2 separate regions of the Homo sapiens genome follow, and region 2 is linked to region 1. Evidence: promoter capture Hi-C in human tissues and cell types (Jung and others, 2019). All regions are on one chromosome and are shown on one strand. The core of a region is centred on a gene start or on the middle of the fragment in contact, and the rest is flanking DNA. Distances in the headings are between cores, read along the strand shown.

Region 1 (2,526 bases), core at 9-2,508:
AGATGCCAAGCGGTATCTTTTTTTTTTTTTTTTTTTTTTTGGAGACAGAGTCTCTGTTGCCCAGGCTGGAGGGCAGTGGCGCGATCTAGGCTCACTGTAACCTCCGCCTCCCGGGTTTAAGCGATTCTCGTGCCACAACCTCCTGAGTGGCTGGGATTACAGGCGTGCACCACCGCACCCAGCTAATTTTTGTATTTTTAGTAGAGACGGGGTTTCACCATGTTGGCCATCCTGGTCTTGAACTCCTGACCTCAGGTGATCCGCCCACCTCAGCCTCCCAAAGTGCTGGGATTACAGGCGTGAGCCACTGCACCCGGCCTGAAGATGTAAAATCTACCACGGAAGGATGATCTAAGTGGGGAAGGAGATGACAGGTGACAGCCTCCCGTGTGGAAGCAGAAAGTAGCGGACGGTAGGAGCCGAAGGCTTCCCTCGGGACCCAGCAGACTTCCCGCAGCCTCCTGGGTTCCCGTCACATTCCTCGGAACCCTCAGTGCACCAGACAGGGGGAGCTTGGAAGAGGCAGGTCAAGAATCGCCCCCGACCCCGCCCCAGCGTTCTGCTCCCAGGGCGGCCTCCCACGCGCCCCGGACCACGCAGCCCGATGGGCCAGGTAGGGCGCGTCTCTGCACCGAAAATGCATTAGGGCCCGCGTGAGCCCCGGTGAACATCCACAGTGCAGTCACTAACAGGCATTACTCCTGGGGCCCACGTGAGTCTATTTAGCATGTGAGGGAAACCAGCCACGGCAGGGAGACTGGGGCTCTCCGTGGTGGCAAAGCCTGCTCAACCTGGGCCCGCGGAGGGAAAACTCGGAAGTCATTTCCATTAGCTCCCCTTCCCCCAAACTGATTCGCTTCTGTCAATCCATCCCTAGAAATAATGTCGAGGCCGGGACCAAGGGGTGCTGCGTTTTAAAAATTCTGCATAGGAAAACCCCTGGAAGTACTGAGGGACAGACAGCCCCACTCACCTGTCAGCCCTGGGGGCGTGCGCGAAACCGCCCAAGGAGAAAAAACCAGCTGGTGCGCAGGCGCACGCCGTCCCACATCCGCAGGCCCGCAACGCCACGCCCCCTGCCACGCCTCCGCGCGCCACTAGCCCCACCCGTCTCCCCGGCCCAGCCCGGCCGCTCGCCCTGTCCGGTCTCTCCCCGGCCCCTTGATTCTCCGCGTCTTCCTCGCAGGCCAGCCTAAGCTCAGCCTGCATTGCGCCCTCCCGGCCTAGGGTGTCGCTGTACCGGCCTCCGAGCTCCACATAGACAAGTCCGGACCTCGGGCGGGGGCAGGAGACGGAGCTGAGCGGCGGGGGGCAGTGTCGCCTCGGTCTAGGGACGGCGGCGGAGTCGGTGGTCCCTGCGCGATGGCCACCTCGGTGTTGTGCTGCCTGCGGTGCTGCAGAGACGGGGGGACTGGCCACATCCCTCTGAAGGAGATGCCGGCCGTGCAGCTGGACACGCAGCACATGGGTAAGGGCCCTCCCTTCCCCAGACCCAACGGCTCACGGGGGCCGGGCGCGGCGGGCAGGGGGACCTTCAGGGTCAGAGGGTCCCCACGCTGCCCCGCCGCGCCGGCGACGCTGCGCCGACACCATTTCGTCTCGCAGATCTCTCCAGAAGCCGGCGGACTCCACCTGGGCCCGGTTCTGTGTTCAAGGCTGCGCAGCCCTCTCTGTGTCTGTCATCGCGAATGGGCGTGTGGACCTCCCATTTTCACAGGAATCTCGGAGGCTTCCTCCGGAGATGTCACACGTCCTCGGGCGAGGGGGCGGAGAGTGCCCTTCTGGCGCGCCCCAGTGAAAACCTACACATTTTCAGAATGCTTCTAGGTCCGGTCTTGCTCCTCCTCCTGCCCTGACTGTCGGTCCTGTCTCTTGAGCCCCATCATTTATAGGTTGAATCCTATATTATTGGAAGTAATTTTCCTCTCACCTCCTAAAGTCGAAACAAGGCAGACTGCAGAAGTCTGAAGTCGCACCTCAGGTCAGAACTTGCCATTTCAACTAAAACCTCCCATTGCCCGACTCCTTAGTCATTGTGAGAGGTACTGTAATTTCATCTGACTGGCCTCTTCCCAACAGGTCTAACTGTTGAAAAATAAAATAGCACTTTGCTCCTTTGCATCTTGCTTTATCCTTTTAATTCCAAATCCATATAATTTATCTAACATTCTTCCTCTCCCATCATAGCCTCTTTCACCACCTTATTATTTCTTAGACTTTTCCCAGGTAGTTTCATGCTTCTGGAATGTGGTTCTAGAAGGAGAGATTTCCCAATATAATTATTTCAGTTAGAGTACTGTCTTTTTGTGGATTATTTTATTCTAACTGTACTTCTGCACTTTTGATTTTTTACACGTTTCTGATTGTTTAAAGGACAGTGCATTGAAATAAAAAGGCACTTCTTAATATTTATGATAAAACTCTCTCGCCCAGTTTCCTTATAATTCTGGAAACACTCTGCCCACTGTATTTTTGTATAACACATACTAAATGTGATAACTATATAATCACCTTGTATGTGTGTAT
Region 2 (2,526 bases), core at 18-2,517, 1.1 Mb before region 1:
GCCCCACACCTCCACACTGCCTGGAGGGCTTACCCCAGCCTTTGATTTTACTAAATGTATTTATTTGTTCTCTGTTTTTACACCAAAGCTAGCATGTGTGTTGGAACAGCTACAGGCGACATTTGTTGGACCTGGTTAGTGGCTGGATTTCTCACCTCTGACCACAAGTAATACTCAGGAAATAGACCTCTGGCAAACAGCCCACCAGAGCCTGAAACGGAACAGTGATGGGGATGGAGGATAAGGCTCAAGGCACCAGGGGACTTCCCATTATGACACTGTAGGGCCAAGTGTTGGTCAAGGCAGGCCGTTCTTGGATGGCATCCAACGTGGTTTAATTAAAGATACACTAAAAAGATCACTCAATAGACAGCCTCATCTACAAGGCAGTCTTCCTACAGGAGCTTAGGGGTGTATGCTTTTCTGTGCTTGCAGAAAGGCGTTCTGTGCCGTTGGCACCTCGGGGAGAAGCTTCAGGTTTCAGGCTGAACTCCTGAGAGCTTAGCATCTGGGGTGTGCACGACTTGGGGTGCCAGGCAGCAGGTCCCACTTGCTCACCAGAGGGGGCGGCCTTATGCTTTACCCCGCAGGTGACTGAGGACCCAACAGTGTGCTCCTTGCTTGGAGGCTAGTGATGAGCTCCTAATTTCACTGTGGACTGCCCAGATTTCTACAAGACAGGCTTCTGGAGACGCTGTGGATTCTCTCCTGAGTGACTAGGGGCTGGCAGGAAGGGCGGGCGCTTGGTGCTGCATCTCAATCCCTGTGGCCCCAGGAGCAGCTGCGGCAGGAACATGGTGAGCAGCTCTCAGCACCCTTGGCCCTGACTTTCCTTCCGCTTCTGTTTGTTGAGCACCTATTGTTCAAAATGCCTGTTATCTAAGAGGCTACAGTTTCCTGAGCGCTTACTATGTGCCAAGTACCTCACACGTATTACCTCATTTAATGCTTACTAAAACCCTATGAGGAAGGGACCATTCTCACCCCCATTTTCCAAATGAGACAACTGAGGGTGAGTAAGATCTGGCTTGAGTCAAACAGCAAATAAGACTTGGGGTCAGCAATGAGCCCTCATGGTCTAACTTCAGAACCGTTACTCTATAACCCCAACAACCATCCTCCAACACAGCAAACGGTATTATGTCCACTTTAGCTCATGAGCAGACTGGGCTCAGAGAGGTTAGGCAATTTACCCAAAGCTGCACAGCTACAAGTCACAGAAACAGAAACCCTTCTGGCTCCAGAGCCCAAACCCTTTCTCCTAAGCTGTACTCCCTCTCTGGGCTTACTGAGACTGCATTTTATTTTGAAGCCACATTCCCCAGCCAATGCCTGGCAGGCACGGTGAGTAGGACTGGATATGGAATGTGAAAACATCTTTACAGGAGAAAGATTTGGCTAAACCTTAACATTTTCAGACATTTTAATTGCTTCTTTGGAACGCAGATGTTTTTGGGGGTGCTGCAGCCATGGCCCAAGTAGCCTCTGAAAGATTTGGGTGTCACCAGCAAATGAGAGTCCCTGCCTGCTTGCTGATCTCACTGGTTGAGCAGCACTAGTTCCAGATGGTTAGAGAACTTTGGTGCTGGCTTGCCATTCTTACTTATTTCAGTGAGGCCCTCAAATGTGTAGGGAGTGTGTCCTACCAAGTATCCCCCTCCACCTGGGTGTGGGCAGCAAACACCAAGGTCCCCGCATATGCTCGACACATCGTGTGGGATACATTGCCTCTTTTGCTCTCTCCAGGGGCAGAGAAAGTCACCTGATTTCAGTGGACAGGAAAGGGACATGTTTATAATCAGTAGAGGGTGAGGGGGCCACTCTCTGATCTATAAGCTCAAGGTCTCTAAATGATTAACTCTGGTACCAGCTTGGGGAACTGCTGAACACCAAAGACAAATGCTGGACCACATGACTCAATGGCCCTAAATTCATCAAACAGAGGCACACTATCGGGGTGGTCATGACCTAGAAGTAGGTGATGTGGTTATCAACTAGCAGCAGACTTCAAATTCCCCACTGCCTCAGTTTCCCTTGTTACACACTAGAAGTTTGTCTCTAGTGCTCGGGCAGTGGGCATGATGTTTTATTTGATTGGGCATACTTTTGCAAAGATTGCTAAGTTGAACAATTGCTATCTTTGTTTACATTGGATTGATGTTGAATAACGGGTTATTTAAAGATTTTCATGAGACTTGAGGCTTCATTTCAGTACTTCCTTGCTCGATAAGTGTTTGTTAAATACCTCCTGTGTAGCAGACAGTGTCTTGGCACTTTAGTCAAAATATAGATAAATGACACTTACTTCCTGACCCTGAGGAGCTTGCAATTTAACAAAGGACAGGAAAAAAATATATATATACATACACACATATGCATTTATATGTGTACATGGCCACATATAAACATACATAATATATATAAGTATATACAAATACATGCACACCCATACATACATGCCTGTGTGTATATATATATGTGTGTGTTGACAGATACAAAACCCGAGCGTGTGCATGTGATAGTTAA

What was found. The method cuts DNA at HindIII sites, captures the fragments that hold promoters and counts their contacts. A contact is called where the count stands out against the background at its distance.
Region 2: a contact is called between a fragment that was not itself captured here and the fragment with the promoter of SPRYD7 in region 1, in 1 of the 25 tissues and cell types used here (lymphoblastoid cells).

What each region holds. Positions count from the first base shown.
Region 1 is chr13:49,935,072-49,937,597 of GRCh38, reverse strand. SPRYD7 (SPRY domain containing 7) reads left to right here and starts at 1,258. Exons shown (of 5, transcript NM_020456.4): 1 at 1,258-1,468. The coding sequence starts at 1,363. RefSeq lists enhancers at 278-327, 1,198-1,447 and a silencer at 908-1,157. The HindIII fragment of the contact is 7,175 bases long and covers 1-2,526 here.
Region 2 is chr13:51,064,222-51,066,747 of GRCh38, reverse strand. It overlaps the pseudogene GUCY1B2. Among named protein-coding and RNA genes, the nearest start is that of C13orf42, 46 kb to the left of the region's middle. The HindIII fragment of the contact is 8,297 bases long and covers 1-2,526 here.